4 separate regions of the Homo sapiens genome follow, and regions 2, 3 and 4 are each linked to region 1. Evidence: promoter capture Hi-C in 16 types of primary human blood cells and fetal thymus (Javierre and others, 2016). All regions are on one chromosome and are shown on one strand. Each heading gives the region's core, a stretch centred on a gene start or on the middle of the fragment in contact. The rest is flanking DNA. Distances are from core to core; before and after follow the strand shown.

Evidence for each region. The method cuts DNA at HindIII sites, captures the fragments that hold promoters and counts their contacts. A CHiCAGO score of 5 or more calls a contact.
Region 2: a fragment that was not itself captured here is called in contact with the fragment with the promoter of STK26 in region 1 in 7 of 17 cell types (total B cells, naive B cells, activated CD4 T cells and 4 more); the score reaches 12.4 in total B cells.
Region 3: a contact is called between a fragment that was not itself captured here and the fragment with the promoter of STK26 in region 1, in 3 of 17 cell types (naive CD4 T cells, total CD4 T cells and naive B cells). The highest score is 6.1, in naive CD4 T cells.
Region 4: a contact is called between a fragment that was not itself captured here and the fragment with the promoter of STK26 in region 1, in 1 of 17 cell types (naive B cells). The highest score is 5.5, in naive B cells.

What each region holds. Positions count from the first base shown.
Region 1 is chrX:132,020,951-132,025,398 of GRCh38, forward strand. STK26 (serine/threonine kinase 26) reads left to right here and starts at 2,352. Exons shown (of 12, transcript NM_016542.4): 1 at 2,352-2,457; 2 at 2,558-2,709. The coding sequence starts at 2,668. RefSeq lists enhancers at 1,900-2,446, 1,934-1,983, 2,434-2,593, 2,447-2,994, 2,964-3,033 and a silencer at 2,144-2,393. The HindIII fragment of the contact is 2,994 bases long and covers 394-3,387 here.
Region 2 is chrX:132,621,866-132,626,313 of GRCh38, forward strand. HS6ST2 (heparan sulfate 6-O-sulfotransferase 2) reads right to left here. Exons shown (of 5, transcript NM_001394073.1): 5 at 4,150-4,448. Among named protein-coding and RNA genes, the nearest start is that of HS6ST2-AS1, 44 kb to the right of the region's middle. The HindIII fragment of the contact is 4,887 bases long and covers 1-4,392 here.
Region 3 is chrX:132,603,115-132,607,562 of GRCh38, forward strand. No RefSeq gene overlaps it. Among named protein-coding and RNA genes, the nearest start is that of HS6ST2-AS1, 62 kb to the right of the region's middle. The HindIII fragment of the contact is 757 bases long and covers 1,512-2,268 here.
Region 4 is chrX:132,582,111-132,586,558 of GRCh38, forward strand. No RefSeq gene overlaps it. Among named protein-coding and RNA genes, the nearest start is that of HS6ST2-AS1, 83 kb to the right of the region's middle. The HindIII fragment of the contact is 245 bases long and covers 2,216-2,460 here.

The DNA of each region.
Region 1 (4,448 bases), core at 1,102-3,601:
GCTTTTATTCTTCCACATAGTTACATAACTCTGGCCCAGAATGATGTCAGAGAAAGTCATTTCTCTGATATGCTTAATTTACTTATCTATCAAAATTATACAACTGGCTCATAAGTAGTTGTGAAATTAAACTAGCAGGAAAGAATTTTGGAGACTAAATAATGAAAGATGTAACACACAATAAACTGAACAATTTAAATGTTCAGTAAGGGCAATGCCTAGGGGTTTAACCTGACATCAATAAAATATATAGTGTATACATTATGCACCTAGTAACCTCAGTGGAGAATTCAAAAGAAGTTCATTCATTCATTCAACAATTATTTATTGAGGGCCTACTACATGCCATGAACCTAGTCTCTGGGGATACAGCAATGGACAAAATGTATAAAAAGCTTGCCCTCAGACTCCTGCCATCCTACCTGAATCATTCTCATGTAAGAGAGGCTGGATCTCTGCCCTCAAGGACCTAATATGGGCACACAAAACAAATGAAATATATGAAATAAGAAGAAAGAACTACAGTGTGAGCGCTGCTCACATTGGAGGAGTTTGAAGGAGGGCTTGGAGCAACTAGGAAGGGTCAATGGAGGTGAGATTTGAGACAGGTCTTAAATGATGGAGCTTGATTCAGACCCTTGCGACTTAAAAGTGTGATCTAAACATCATCACCATGTGAGAGCTTGTTAGCATTGCAGAATCTTGGGCCCAGTCCAGACATGGGAGATAAAAATCTGCGCTTTTGAGGGAGCAAAAGAACCCTCGGATTTCTATGGACATTAAAAGTTTAGGTGGCACTGCAGGTTTCCGGTCAGGCTGGCAATGTTGTGAGCTGGGTTGGTGGGAAATCGAGACTAGATTGGAGCCTAACATTAGGTTAGAAATAGTGAAGGGCTGGACTTGGGGAACTAGGAGTAAGGAAAATGCAATTGTACCTTTTATCATCATTAAACACAAACAGAAACCATAGAGAAAGTAGTAAGTTTATCACCAGTCAGAGGGACCTGCGTCTGAATTCCCAGCTGTACCACTTCTTAATTGCGTGACATTTCGGTCAAATTATTTAACCTGGTTGAGCCTTTTTCTTCATCTGTAAAATGAGGGGAAATCAATAAGACTCCAGAAGGCCCTTGTACAGGTTCAGTAAGGTATTAATAACACATAGAAAGCACTTAGCAGTCCCTGGCACAATGAAAATAATATCCATTAATAATAACGATATTGATAAGAATTATATACTATTCTCTGAAAAAGATTTAAAAGGAAGAAGAGAAACTATCTTTTACCACTAGAGGCCCCCCACCGTGTGGTGCGTAGAGACCCATAACAAATTTCAAGGTAAGGAACTTCATCTTCATTTTAAACTGGCACTCGACTATTACTTTTTTAAAAAGTAATTAACCCCTTACGTGTTCCCAAAGGTGCCTTCATAATGAAATTCCTGTTACTATTATTACCAGTGTTACTGTCGCTACTGTTAGAGTACTCTCAAAAGAGCCTGTCTCCCTCTCCTGGAGTAGAACTTAAAATGGGGCGGAGGCAGGGAGTTACCAAAACCACTGCAGTGTATGCTGATTTCAATAACCTGTACTGCTAACGATCCAATCTCATTTCCCAAGCCTCTACTATCCTCATTAATTTTTCTGCCGATGTACCATCTGTTTTCCAATTTCCCTCTGCCTTACACGTGCAGAACTTGTGGTAGAGAGAAGCCCTAGTTTGGCCGTTCTGCAAGGGATAGCCCAGGAGGTAGGGGGAACCTTAAGTTGAAGTCACCTGAAGCATGTTTGGGGTCAGGGAACTCGGAAAGCAAGAGTGTGGCCACAGATCTGCCCAGAGGCGCGACCCCCAGCTGAGGAGACCAGATGGCGGGAAAAAGCGGGGGTCCACCGACTCCGCGGCTATCTGTAATCCTACCCTTGGCCAGGCCGGGGAGCCAAGAAAGACTTCCAACACTCCCCAAGTTTCAGCTCAAGTCGTCTCCGAGGCTGCGTGTGCCCCAGCCTCGCACGCCTCCCTGCAACGTGGCCGCATCTGGGGCGCCCTCATACCCTCAGGGTTTCCCAAACTCTTCCATTCTCTTCCCAGGCCCAGCCATGTCCCAGGTCTCCGGGTCCCCGGGTTCTCCTCTCCGCGTGCCGGGAGAGTCTCCAGCTTCTCAGACTCCAGCAACCCCAGCCAAACCTCTTCGCTGCCTGGAGCCTTGGCTCCCGCGACACCGCCCGGCTGCGGGGCGGGGGCAGGGCCAACGGCGGAACCGCCCCCAACCGCCTCCCAGGCCAGGCGAGCAGGCGGGTGGCTGGGGCGCCTCCACCTCCTCTTCCTAAAGCGGCGAGGCGCAGAGGAGCGGCATCACTCGAGCCCAGGTCCCAGCCACCACCACTCACAGCGCTCGGCGTTCAGGAAGAGGAGCAGCAGCGGAGGCGGCTGCTTCAGCGGCGGGCGGGCGCCAGAAAGGTAGACTGAGTCCCAGGGAGCTGCGCCGCTAACAGCCCACCTCCTAGCCCCGGGCTACGCGCCGCCAGCCCAGTAACCCCACTTTTGTGTGTCCTCCCAGGCCCCGATCGAAAAGCCTGGGAGGGCCGCCGAACTACCCCCGGAGGGAGGAGCCAGTCCGAACCCAAGGCGCCACCGCCGCAGAAGCGGAGCGAGGCAGCATTCGCCTCCATGGCCCACTCGCCGGTGGCTGTCCAAGTGCCTGGGATGCAGGTGAGGAAGCGCAGGCCGCCCCCGCCGCCCACGTGACTGCTTGGGAGCCCGGTGCGCCCTCGGTGCTGGGCACCGGCGACAAGGGACGGCCCCAGGGCTCCCCTGAGGGCAGGGCCGGTCACTATGGCCAGGTGACCTGGGAGTAGGGCTGGAGGTGTTTCCTGGTGTGTAGGCTAGGTAGTGCTCTTCGCTGGGAAGGCGAGGCGGGACTGGAGCGCGCAACTAGGTGGAGATTGAGGGCGGTTGGGGGTATAAAAATAGGCCAGAGCCACAGACACCTGCGCCTGCTGAGCTTGGCACGGTTGGGGATGGGGGGGCGGAACTTAACCTGGGAGAGATGGAAGTGCCTTGGAATTTGTGGGGTATAACGCGAGTAGTGAGTGCCCTACACCCCCCACCCCAAACACACACTCAAGTTGGGGCGGGGCAACACCAGGGGTGGCGGCGGCGGCGGCTTGAATTGGGCTCTTCCTGTGTGCGTAGGGCTAAGAGAGAGGTGACCTCTTTCTCCCTTTCGGTACTGCTGCTTAAGGGCAAAGTTGTAGCTTGCTCCCCGACCTAGCCCAGCCCATAGTGTGGCGTGAGAAATGCTGGTTCTGTTCAGAGTCACTGAGGTGATGACTTCTCAGCCCCCTCCGTGCCTTTCCCACAAGATGACTGTTACATGTGGTTAAAGGAAGCTTTTTGTCTTGGACAAGGGACTACTGCATGGGACCCAACTTGTTACTCGAAGTCTACCCAGCCCAACCCCCTCCCATTATATTTTCATTTTATTAAAGATAAGCTATGTCAGAAAACTTTTTATGCTGTTATGTTTTTAAATCGGTGCATTTTAGGCTATCTGCTAAGTGTTATCCAAATTTACTAACTTTTTAAAGCATTCATGTTCTATTTTTTTTTCCTTTGCTAGATGGCCTAAACAACCCATTTAGGGGCTAAAACCACTGAAGCCTCAGTCTTTCATGATCTAAAATGTGAAAACAAACTTTTTTGAAGTTCAAAAATAAAATGTTTATAGTAAATAGCTTATATTTCTAGTAGAAATCAAAGAGCTGTAGACTGGGGCCTCAATTTACTTATTGATACATGGAGTTTTTTTTTTTTTTTCAGTGTTCTCATTTTATGAATGTCCACAAAAGTGATTTTTAAATTCTTTCCCAAAATGGGATTTATTTGTGCACCTAGAACTCTTGGTGTGTCCTAAACACCAGACATTTCAGCTGCATTTAGGGCAAGTCTGGGTTGAGTCTCAGGAAGTTAGTGTATATTAAATAAAGAGAGAGAGAGAAAGGGAAATAGGAAATAGTAGGGCTTAAAAAAAAAGATTAATCCACTCAAGCCTTGCAAAATGCCTTAAACTTTCTTCCTCTCAGGCGGCCTCCCCTCTCCTTCCCTCCTTCTTTTCCCCACGCACCCTGCCCCACACCCCATTCATTCAGTTCTGCCTTTGATTGTATCAAGGGAATTCATAGTTCACAATACTAAGTACAGTTTTGCTGTTTGATCTGGGAAAAAGTGACATTTTCTCACCGTGCTCTTCTTTCCATTCTGTGGAGAGTAAAACGATGCACATGTGAAGTTTGTCTCTGAGGGTCTCCATGCTTCTCGCTCCATTGTGTGCGCGAGCCTGCGTGTGTGCGTCAGCAGAGTGAGTGCCTCCAGTTCATCAAGTTTGTGATTCTGGGGAACTCTGTGTGCTGAGGGGAAAATGGTTTCTGATTTTTATTTTATTTGTCTTG
Region 2 (4,448 bases), core at 699-3,198, 600 kb after region 1:
CTTAATGAGATTTGATGAAGATTATTGAACCTTATTCTGTCCTTAAGGCAATAGGACTAAAATTTAAAAATTCAAATTGGATAAATGCAGAAGTTCATTTTTCTTCTTTTTTTTTTTTTTTTTTTTTTTTGTTTAAGTAAAGTGAGCTAGCTGAATTTACAAGCCCTGTGTGTCCCATTCCCCGAGGGCCCTCTGTGACTACTAATTTGAAAACTAATATGTGCTAACTTTTAATGGGTTACTCTCTCTCCTCCCTCCTAGGTGGCATAAATGCATCTTAATAGGGTCTTCTGGACATGCTCCTTTCACCCACAGAAGAGAACCTTGGAGTGTAGGCATTCCAGGCACCAAGCTAGGCCCATAAGGGAAGCAGCTAGACCTTTGGGGTCCTCGCAGATCTCATCAGGCAGACAAGCCCATACTCCAGCAATATTGGGTGGAGAGATGAGTGGGAAACGGGCGGGGCTGGAAGTGAGTCATCCTTGGCTAAGTGTGATAAAGTAGGTCCCCAATCAGCCAGAGACACCAGATAATGCCTTTTCATTGCTGGAGAGAGAATCTGTGACTCACTTGGCATTTTGTGGGTTACATCTTTCAGAATGTTTCTGTCACTGGCTGCATTCGAAGCTCAGAAGTAAACTTTAAGATAAGTCTTTATACATTTGATTATGTTACATTTGAAACACATTTGTTTTATTTTTTAGAAAGGTTTCCTTAAATTAGTCACAACAGGAAATATACTCTTTTTCTTGCAAATATTTTTAATTCTTGATCTCAGAGTCAGTCTTTAGCTACTGAAGATATAGGAATTCAGCAGACATCTAGTCCTTATGCTAATAACAGTAATAATGATTATTATAATACTATCAAACACATATAAAGTTTATTTTATCATGCCTGTAATCTCGGAACTTTGGGAGGCCATGGTGGGAGGATTGAGCTCAGGAGTTCCAGATCAGCCTGGGCAACATAATGAGACCTTATCTCTACTAAAATTGTAAAAAATTAGCTGGCAGTGGTAGCGTGCACCTGTAGTCCCAGCTACTCGAGAGGCTGAGGCTGAAGGATCAGTTGAGCTCAAGAGGTTGAGGCTGCTATGAACTATGATCACACCACTGCACTCTGACCTCAGTGACAGAGTGAGAGTCTGTCTCTAAAAAAATAAAAATGAAAAGTAAAGTTTATTCTATATCAGGCACAGTGTTAAGTGCTTTACAGATACTAACTCATTTAATCCTCACAACAACTCTCTGAAGTTACAGCTTTTATTTTCTCCATTTATAGGTGAAGAAACTGAGGCATGGAGAGGTTAGAGACTTTCTCAAGGTCACAGAGCTGGTAAATGGTGGAGCTGGGATTCAAACCCAGGCAGCATGCATATAGAGTCTATACTCTCAACCTATAACATCAGCAGTAATCAATTTTGTTGGGATAAACCATCCACTATATTCCTGTTTTGGAAGGGAATCCATGATACACTGCTGAACTTTTTCATAAAAAAAAAAAGAAATCAGGTAACAATGAGAACAATATGGTTTTATCCTTTTAAATAAATATATGTGTTTGTGTGTGCGGTTGGGTTGGAGGAAGAGCAGGAGGGAAGGGGGAGGGGGAGAGATAGCAGATTTGAATGTGGCTAGGACAAGGAGGTCTGGAGGAAATCATAATCACAGTAGTTATTTTGGGGAAGTGGGAGTTGTATAGGTAATTTCACTTTTTACTTTACATACTTATATATTGTTTTAATTTTTAAAAGCATGTGATAAAACACATACACACACGCACACACTCCAAGGAACTGGCAGGCATCAGCTATGTAAGACTAATGAAGAACTAATTAAGCTCTCACCTATAATTACTGACACAGCATGTGGCTGGGATTTCTGCAATCCTGAGAGAAAAGACCAGGTTCTCCCGTGCTTTCAGGCCTAAAAGCAGTGACTCTCACATAGTAGGTACTCAGTAAATGTTGTTTGTGGTGATATGGTATTGGAAAGTATGTTGTTTGAATCACATCCTTTTATTCTCTCAGACTCTGGGGTCATTATAAACTCCGCCAAGTTTTCAATACTTAGGAAATTTTGATCTGCTCTCTCGTTCCAGGGCTGACCAACTTTTTCTTTGGGGGGCAAGAAAATAAGTATTTTAGGCTTTTGGGGCCATAAGATCTCTGTTGCAACGACTCCTGCCACTGTTGCATGAGAGCAGCCAGGGAAAATATGCAAAGAAATGGGCGTGCTGTGTTCCAATAATACTATATTTACAAAAGCAGGCAGAGGGCTGCATTTGGCCCCAGGACAGTAGTTTTTGGACCCTGCTCTAGCTGCTCAGAACAGTGCCATTTGTACTGAGAAACAGCTCATTTGCTTTGTTTTCAGGATAGTTTTCTCCTGAAGTTCTGAGGGCTTTGCCCATTTGTGAAGGTCTGAGGGATGTACCTTGGAAATTGTGAGGTGTTGATCAAATTCCTTGGACACTTAAAACTGTCAGGCGGCCTCATTCTTGCCAAGTGAGAGATTTGAGTTGCCTTATTCCACAGTCCCAGAGGGTTACTTTCAGAGTCAGCATACTCTGTGTTTTTGCTAGAACTTTCTACAAAGTACTCGGCTTTTGTTTCTTTGCTTGGTTCAATCTCTAGAGAAGACAAGAGAGAAGAAACTTCCAGTCCACCTCTGATGGCCATTTGTGCAAAAGGAATATGCTGTCTCCCCTTTCCCAACTTTCAGTGTCAAAAGCAGTGTCTTCAGGTCAATGAATGCAAGAAAGCTGTGGGTTGCACATCGCCAACCTGGAATATTCTGTGGTTCTCTTCTGTGACTCAGACCCAGCATGCAAGTTTTATGCTTCTTTTTACCCCCGTACTCCACCCATGGAAGGAAACCATCCTTCCCATTGTGACAGCTTTATTAGACCCATCACCCAAAGGTAGTTCTGGTTGTACTTGGTTATCACCCCTATTGAGAATCCTAATTAAGTCCTGAGGAACCGAGCCAATTCGTTGTTTCTTCATTTTAGCTCCTCCCTGGGCTGCCTCAATAGCTCATTTCCTTAGCAGGTTTCCTATCTTTTCTCCACTACAGTTAGAGCGCCCTGCTCTCCATGAGTACCTACCCTCCTCAGGGGAAAAGGGAACCAAACTTTATTTCTGAAATATTTCAAGTTCTTGGACTTTATGTTCCTGTTCACAGATCCTCCCAAGGGGGTGTAGGATCTTTATACAATCAGGCCCTTTGGCAGCCCAAATATTGATCAAGAAGCAGTTGACAGGCAAAACCATGTAAGCTGATATGGTTAGACTTTTTGTCCCCACCCAAATCTCATCTTGAATTGTAATCCCCATAATCCCCATGTGTCAAGGGAGAGACCAGGTGGAGGTGATTGAATCATGAGGGTGGTTTCCCCTTTGCTGTTCTTGTGATAGTGAGTTCTCACGAGATCTGATGGTTTTATAAGGGGCTCTTCCCCCTTCACTCAGCACTTCTCCTTCCTGCCACCTTGTGAAGAAGATGCCTTGCTTTTCCTTCACTTTCTGCCATGATTGTGAGTTTCCTGAGGCCTCCTCAACCATGCAGAACTGTGAGTCAATTAAACCTCTTTCCTTTATAAATTACCCAGTCTCAGGCAGTTCTTTATAGCAGTATGAAAATGGACTTATACAATACATATGAATAGTTTACAGGCTAAGGCTACTTAACTACATCTCCAACCAAATTTGTAGCTTTCTTCCTCTAACCCCTTGGGACTGACATTTAAAGTCTCTTTGGAAAAGCGCAAGGACAAATCATACCCCACTCCCCCATAGTGCTAACTATAAGAGTTTGTTTGAAAAAATGTGCACATTTTGTGTTTGGGACTTTAAAAACCAATACATTAATGCTTACATTTAAACTCTACCCTGTGGATAGAAGGGAGAATGAAGAGCACCATTGTGGGTTGGACACGCTTGTACAAAAAACATGGACTCCCAGAAGGAATCACCCCAAATTAAGGCCATTTTAGTGTGAGGGATTAGAATGGGCCATCTAATTTTCATACCTGGCTGCCAAGAGGATAAAAGGAAATGTCTTGTTGAAAAAAATTCTGTTCTGGTTTGTGAGATCACAATGTCTAGCAGCTGCAAATCTTGAAATTATGAGATTACTCAGAGCCTGTAATTTAAACTTTATTTCATATCTATTGTTAAATTACACAAAATCAGTGAATGGTTTGTAAAGCTACACCAATGGACAGATGTTTACAGTTGAAATCATGGGATTTACATAATGGCAAAAATGTATATGTATATTTATAACATCCTCTATATACAATAATCAGTATAGACAGAGAAAATGCACTTAATCTTTGCAAATCATGCACACCACAGCAATAACACAAAATGTTTTTTCTGTAACAAGCTTTTCCACTGGCTCAGGCTTCATCCTGCTTTCCAACAATACCTATCAGTTTTA
Region 3 (4,448 bases), core at 640-3,139, 580 kb after region 1:
GGAGTGCAGTGGCACGATCTCGGCTCACTGCAACCTCTGCCTCCCGGGTTTAAGCGATTCTCCTGCCTCAGCTTCCCGAGTAGCTGGGACTATAGGTGCACGCCACCATGCCTAGCTAATTTTTTGTATTTTTAGTAGAAGTGGGGTTTCACCATGTTGGCCAGGATGGTCCCGATCTCCTGACCTCGTGATGTGCCCAGATCGGCCTCCCAAAGTGCTGGGATTACAGACGTGAGTCACTGTGCCCAGCTGACTTGACTTTAAATGTTGCTATTAATTAGTTATGTGACCTTCAACAAATACCTAACTTCCCTGGGGTGAAAAAATAGGACCTACTTCATAGAGTAGTTATGAGAATGAAATAAAATAATCTATACCTGGTGTTTGGCACAAATTGTGTGTTCAATAAATGTTAGCTCTTATTATAATTATTGGCAGGGACTGTGGTGATATTTGAGAGTAATGACTTTGACCAAAGAGCTGGAAAGACTGATGCTATCTAACATCAGGGTCAGCATGTAGCTGTTCAATCAGGCTGGCCTTCAGGTAAAATTGGCTAATTTCATAGACTATAGTGAGCTAGGACATCTGCAATTTGAAAATGAAAAATATTTCCTATGAAGCCTATGAAGCCTTAGTTGTCGGTATCCAAAAGGTACATTTGGTTCCTGCCAGCCCCTGGGGTTCAGCTGGACCAAATGGCTTCAAAAAGGTATAGATGGCAGTTCAGGGTCATTATGGACTAGCTTCCTGGTCTGATGGCTAAATAGTAACCTGCAATGCGACATGTACAGTAGGCCTCTGACCCCAGCCCCAATTTACTCCCTTGTTAATCAGTGCGTTAGTTTGGGACCTGCAAGAAGTAGATACAGAGACCGGATTAAGTGTTCAATGATTTCACTGGGGGAAACGTGTGAGAGAAAATGGGACTAGAGCCAGAGAGGCCCAGAGTGGCCTCAGACTGCAATGTAAGTCTGACCTTGAAAAATCAAACAGAGAGAGATCAAACAGCAGAGTACGGCAGCTGGAGCCCTTGGTCAAGGATGTTCTCTGTAGTTGGAACAGCAATGCACATTACCATGGTGGCCACAATGAATGACATGGAAGAAATATCTAAAAGACAAAATGATCAAGTTTGCAGATGACACTGGGATGCAATGCTTAGAATCTGGTCTTGCAAGGTTTTGAATGTGTTCTTTTTCAAAGCTGAACATATACAAGAGCTCCTTATATGATCCCATTAGCTTCTTGGGATGCCTCCCCCTATTCTTTCATTGCAGTTGTATAATCAGAATTATATTTTGACAGGTATGAGAAATTATGCTGCGGAGAAATACTTGACAGCAGGTATTAAAAGGTATTCAAGTTATATTTTGAATTTAAAGAAAACAGGTTAAAAACTGTCTTTACAGCATGATTTTCATTTTCTTAAAAATTACACATGCATAGGAAAAAATAAAGAAACAGATAAACATAAAAATATCAAAAGTGGCTATATTTAATGTCTTTTAAGCTTCTTTTTGTGTCTCTGCGGTTTCTATTTTTCCAGTGTATTACTTCTGAGATATTCCCAATGCTGTGGAGTGATCTTCCCTTTCAAAATCCCCTGTACTTGTATAAGTGGACCTTCCAAGGGCTGGGTATGCCTCTCACTGGCTCAGCCTTTCTGAGAAAGGATGAAATGAAAAAGTGGTTTATCTCAAGTCTTGTCACCATTTCAACTACCTTTTTAGCTTTTTGCCTCTTGACTTGCTTCTGACCACTGAGAATTGCTAACTCCCTGCCTAGGTCACCATGTCCCCCTGCTGTCCAGACACTCAGCTTTACTTAACTTGAAGCTGCTATGGGATTAGTCCCCTTTGGACCTATTAGTAGTAATAATATCATTCATACATTTCCCTCACTCCTCTGTTTCCTAGAAACAATAATAATGTCTAACATTTAATTGAGTGCTCACCACATGCCAGACACTGTGCTAAATACTTTAAATGTATTGACTCATTAAATTCTCTCTATAACTCTGTAATGTTGGTACTATTATTATCCATATTTTACAGATAAGGAAACTGAGACAATGGGGAGTGAATTAAGTGGGCCAAACTCACTCAGCCAGTGAGTGGCAGGGCCAGGATGCTTGCCTACCTTTGCCTGGGGGATTTTTTTTTTACTTGCACTCACAAATAAGATTTATCACAGCTAAAGGATACAATGCAAAACCTGCAAAGGGAAAAGGCATGAGAAGGGAGGTCTTAGAGGAAGCCATGTACAAGCTTCCAAGAGTCCTCTCCCTGTGGAGACACATAGGACGTGCTTCATTTTCAGCATTAAATTTAGAAAACATACATGAAATGTTGTTTACCTGCCTGGAGGATTGATTGCCTGTTGTTTCTTGATCCTGCCTCAGAATGGTCCTATCAACTGCCACTGGCCCACATCCAAGTGTGAAAGATCTATATGCAACATTTCTTCAGGCAAGGTACCCCAAGAAGCATCCAGCTGTGACTTTGAGAAAGTTATCTACATCCTCTGAGTCTCAGTTTTCCCATCTGTAGACAGGATTAATATTCCTTTGCAGAGTTCTGAAGATGATTGAATGGAAAAAGGTATGAGAGACAACTGATGCCAATTCCCAACACAGGACAGTACTCATTGAGGAGAAAGCTGAAGAAGACATGGAAATAGTCACCTTTAGTTAATGGAAGAGGGGACTCACCTATGAGCACTTTGAAACATTCATTTTCAGAATTCAAAAAAGCACGAGACTGTTCAGAATGGATTTTCAGAGTAGCAGCTTTCAAGGTTTGGGCATTTGAAATTTTAAACAGTGGATTCTGGATATTAGCCCTTGTCATTCTCAGCAAACTAACACAGGAACAGAAAACCAAACACTGCAGGTTCTCACTCATAAGTGGGAGTTGAACAGTGAGAACACATGGACACAGGGAGAGGAATGTCACACACCAGGGCCTGTTGGGGGGCGGGGGACTAGGGGAGGGATAGCATGAGGGGAAATACCTAATGTAGGTGACGGGTTGATGGGTGCAGCAAACCAACATGGCATGTGTATACCTACGTAACAAACCAGCACATTCTGCACATGTATCCCAAAACTTAAAGTATAATTTAAAAAAAAAGAAATTTTAAACAGTGAAGGAACCACATGACTAACGCCTTGTTGGGAAATGTACTGTCATTCAGGTCAATGCAGAGTGCGATGGAAGCATGAAGAAGCTTCCATAAATGAGGAGACCAGAGAAAGGGCCTAAGAAAATTCCCTGGAGGATGTTCACATTGAATTGTGAAGGGTGAGGAGAGCTGATCAAGAAAGGGGGTTAAGGCATTCCAGATACAGGAAACCACATGCACAAAGGCCCAGAGACAAAAATGGCATCGTCATTGTCATTGTCATCATCATCATTCTTCCTATCTTTTGAGTACCTTCTATGTGCTAGACACTATAGTAGGTGCTTTCTATGTTATTTGAAATCCCCACATAACGTTATAAAGTAAGCATCCTTCTACACATCTTACAGATAAGGATACTGCGATCTTAAGAGGTTCAGGTGATCCATGTAAGTAGTAAAGCTGGAACTGGAGAGCCCAGGCATGCAGACTCCAAATCCCAAACTCATTCTGCTGTATGGAGACCCTCCTTTGGAACATGAAAAGCCATGATGAATTTGCGGAACTGTAGAATACCCAGTGCAGCTGAGATGTATCCAAGGAGTTAAGGGAAACTAGGCTAGAAGAATAAGCAGGGTTTAAGTCCCACAAGGCTTTGAAGGACATGCTCAGGCATTTCGACTGTATCCTGAGGGACTGGGAATTTTGGAAGCAAAACAGCAAAATGGTGGTGGAGTTACATGATCAGTTTTGTGTCTTTGGTAGCAGTATGCGAATTGAATTAGAAGATCAAGATTGAATGTAAGAAGACCAGCAGCTCAGTGCTTAAGCCCAAGAACAAGAGGCATCAATTATTCAAGTATCTGCTACTTTGTTAAGTGGATTTATCAGAAAAGTGTCAGAGGTCTCAGTCACTTGTTTCCAGAATCTTCACAAAGGCTTTGCTGCTTCCATTATCCTTCTTCCTACCTCCCTGCTTCTATTCCTCAGTATGATTACAGACTCCTAAAACAGGGTGCTGTCTAGGAGGGAAATCACGCAACAGTGGAAAGCTATTACTCACTCTTTTTGGAAGCCTGTTCCCTCAATACTGTGGCAATAAAGAAAATTCTGAGTTTAACGATGGTGGGGATAGAATAGAGGAGTGGTGGAAGCAAGCAGTAATTCTGCCAGTAACACCAATGAAGCCATGTGGTCTTTTCAACCACGGTACAAGGAACACCTCTCAGCTCTGGATATATTACTCAGATTCTTGCATGAATCAAATAGTGAAAATTCAGGCACACTTTCAGACACCTATGGAAATCTTGGCCATGCTTAACCAG
Region 4 (4,448 bases), core at 1,088-3,587, 560 kb after region 1:
CTTCCCTGTTCCTTCTTATTCTTTCTCTTGTTGACTCTTGTCCACACACTCTTTAATTGCTATTTCTAATCTTTTCCATGCAACTCATGTCTCACATGTTCCGCCCACTAAGCTCTCTCATTCACTTACTTGTCCTTCTCTGTTCCTAAGAAGATAGCAGCAATGCAACATGAGTTTTTTAACCTATCCCCTCAATACCTATGCCCATCTTCTAAGGCCTTTCCTTATATCTAAAGGATATCAATCCTGCCCTCTCAGTACAGTATTACATTTCCTTCAGTTCACTGACAAACTCCTAGATTGACTGGTTAGCAACAGTTCCATTATGGAGTGGTAGTTTCACAAGGCCTAAATGTAGGTTGGTGTAAAAGTTCATGTGGTGAAAGGAAGTGGTCTCTGCCTCTATTGTCTTTTCTTTGCATCATCTATATGCTTGCCATATAATAGACATTTAATAAATATTTATTGAGCAAATTAATGTACTACATATTATGTCACTGGTTTCGTGTACTTTTGACACTTCTGTGATGTTTCCAAGCATCACATCATTTTCCTCATCATTTGGGAGATCAGAATGTGGAAATTCCCCCTCCTTTTTCCTCAACAACCACCCTCGTGCTACACCTGTAACTTAAAGCTCTTTATGCAAAAACAGACATGTCTGATTCCACGTAGTGAACAGAAGATTACATATAGATTAAAAATCAAAAGAAAATGAACTCTGCTCCAGTGTTAGAAAATACAGCCAATGATAGATAAAACCAGAATATCAGGAATGATGACACAATGCAGTGGCAAATGTTTGAAGAATGGAATAAGGTGCTAGCATTCCTTTCCTGAGATAAAGGTAAATGGATAGTTGCTCAGGAAGTCTTCTATGTACTTTATCACAAGCTAGATGAAGTATGCTGTGTAAGTTTTTTAGAAGAGTCTTCAAGAAAACTTTAGATGATTAATGTAAATATCTACAGCCATGGTTAGCAGAATAAACCTTTTTCTGAATAATATAACAAAATCTTTCTGGTAAAGAAAAGCATGTAAGATATTTCCTTTTGCTTCTGGGAACCAAGAAGCAAGAAGGAAGAAATGGTTTAGACACTGAAATGTTAAAATTTAGGAGACATTTCCATGGCCTTGTGAGAGCTGCAGATTTGAACTTGGAAGGCAGCTTAATGGACTAGAAAGAACATGAGTGTCAGGGCTGGACGAGGCATTTAATTCTGGCTTTGCCATTTAGGCTTTTACCTTGAGCACATTCTGAGGAAGAACAAAAAAAGGTGCCTCTTAGTGACTTACAGGAGCACAGTTTCATGGCCTATAATAATGGAGGTGGCCTGAGATGATTTCTTGTTTAGATAGGAAAAGAATGAGGTTTGTGCTGAGTGAGCGCAACGACCTACGTCAAAGCAAACTATTTAGAACCAATTTGGTGGTATCCAGTACTACTTCAGAGATCACAAACCAGTTCCATTACTGCTTGATAGAATCAAAGATGTTCAGTGGCATCAGAAAGGGAGTGTAAGAGATTTTATATCTATGCATTCACAAGGACTTCTAAAAGCCTCTGGGCCTTTCCAGCAGCTCTCACTGGGTGATGCAATTAAAATCTGTGTGAATTAAAAAAAATAAAATTCTTTAAAACTACTCCTCTCAAAATGTTGACAGTAAATGTTTTATCACCCTTGACTCCCTCTTGCTATGTTTTGCTAAGGTCCTTAAACCTTGTTTTCCACACTGTTAGGTTGTAGAGAGTCATTTCTGCTTGCCTTTGACATGCATAGTGAGGTAACCACTATGTGCATAGTGAGGTGACCACTATTCAAAGGCAAGCAGAATAATAAGCATACAATAAAAGAGCTTCATAAAGAATCAGGTCTTGGCCGAGCATGATAGTTTATGCCTGTAATCTCAGTGCTTTGGGAGGCTTAGACAGGAGGATCACTTGAGCCCAGGAGCTCAAGACCAGCTGGACAACATAGCAAGACTCTAAAACAAGCTGAAAAAAAATTAGCCTGGCATGGTGATGCATGCCTGTAGTCCCAAATATACTCCGGAGGCTGAGGCAGGAGGATCCCTTGAGCCCAGAAGTTCAAGGTTACAATGAGCTAAATTTCACCACTGCACTCCAGCCTGGGTGACAGAGTGCGACCCTGTCTCAAAAATTTTTTTAATTTAATTTAAATTTTAAAAAGAACCAGAACTTGACTTCTACCCAAGCTTCTGTGACCACATTCACCAAAATATCAAATAAAAATCAGGTAAGCTGTATGACAGAGGTCTTGTGTGCTGCTTCTGAGTGTGACAAGTGAGGGATGCAACTTGTACATGGAAATGTTTGAACTTGGGGGCCATTCCCATGATATATAGACACAGATAACAGGGGTTTAAAATCCAGAGTCAGTTTTCTATGGTAGCAGAGAGTAAGGGCATGTGGACAGAGCCAGACATTGGAGCCACTGAAGCTTGGGTTTGAATTCTAGCACTCCTACATACTAGCTGAGTTATCTGTGCTTTAATTCCTTCATCTATCCACATGGACATATTGCTACCTAACTCCAAGGTTTGTTTTTGGGACTAAATAATTTGATATTTATAAAGGGCCTGCCCTGTAATAAGTGCACCATAATTATTAGTTTATGTGTTCACTCATGTATTCGTTCAATAAATATTTATCGAGCACTTGCTATGTGTGGCAATCACTGTACTAGGCATTGAAACTCAGACAAATGAGATAGAGTGTCTGTTCTTAAGGAGGTCACAATGAAGACAAGGAGACCAAGAAATAGACAATTTAGTTACAGTGTGGAAAATACCACAATATAAATCTGTGCATATGCTGTTAGGAAGGAACAAAAGAGAGATTAGGGCAGGCTTCCCAAAGCAGGTGATGAGCCTTAAAGGTTAATTGGGAGCTCTTCCAAGTTAAGAAGAGGAGAAAGGCATTCCATAGATAGAAGTAACATGAGCAAAGCCTCAGGGGTGAGAAAGGTGAGAAACAACATAGTACGTGCAGGAGACTACCAGCATTTGGATATTGCCAAAACATAGTATATGAGGGAGGAGGTTGCCGGAGGTGAGAATGGGGATACGGGCAGGGAAGGTATTGGCAGGCCCTCTTTAATCTTCTCCTCCATCCTTTCTTGGAAAATTCAGAACATGTAATTATAGTAGTTATCGCCAGAGGAGCAGAAGGCTATTCCTCTCCTGACTGTTTTTATGGTACATCCGGTAAATAGAAGGGTCATTTTGAGACCACCTACCCGCATTGCCACTTGGCAATCATGAGTACCAGAATGTGTGGAAGAAGAAAACAATTATTTTGGTTTTTTTTTTCCTCTCTCTCTCGGGCAAGGGCAGAAGATTTAAAAGCTGTGAAGTTAAGCTCTCATCAAAGTAGAACTTAGGTAATTAAAAGTGTGGACTCTGGATTCAGACAGACCTGCATTTTAAATTTGCCTTACTATATGTCTTATTATCTCGAGATAGTTATTTAAACCTCCAGGCCTTAGTTTTTCCAGCTGTAAAATGAGTTTAATGAAATGATGCATGTAAAGCAATTAGCACAGTGGTAGGCACATACAAATGCACTATATCAACGTGCTATTGCAATTGTCTGAACACAGTTGGCCAAGATTGTCATAGAAAAGCAATGAGCCTTGAATTTGGACTGGTTATCCCAGTGATGATTTTCAAGTCTTCCTCTATCACCATTGCTTTGACTTCATACCAGTTGAGCTTGACTTGACTACACTTTAGGAGGGTCCCCAAGCTTCTGTATTGTTACACCTGTGGCCATAACAACTAGGAATATAACAGACTGTTAACCTGAAAATGGAAAAAGCTATGTTTTTCTTCCTTCTTCTCCAGGCAAGTTCATGTTAAGGGAAGAACATCCAGGGAAACACAGAAATTAGCCTATGCATTATCAAGCAGATAATGGTCTTGTTTTTAAGACAATGTACCTGCATAAGATACTAAAATGTACCAATATGACTAATTATCTAATTAGAAGGCAATTTGAAGAATTCATGTTTTGTATAAACTTACTTTGAATTTTAAATTCAACTTCACAAATGGTATTGAGGAAAAATTTTACTTAATTAAGCCTATGTAGCATACTCATTTACAATCTCTTTAAATTCAATTAAATTTAGAAAAGAGTGTTAAAAACTATGGCTAAGAACCCACTGGCAAAATGCTGAACATACAGCTACTATATGAGCCAGCAATTCCAATCCTAAATATGTACCCAAGATAAATGAAAACACATATCCACACAAAAGCTTGTAAAGGAATGTTCATAGCAGCATTATTCAAAATAGAATTTCAACTGAAATGCCCATTAGTTGATGAATGGATAAACAAAATGTGGTATAATCATACAATGGAATATTATTCACCCATAAAAAGGAATGAAATGCTGATCCATGCTGCAACATGGATGAACC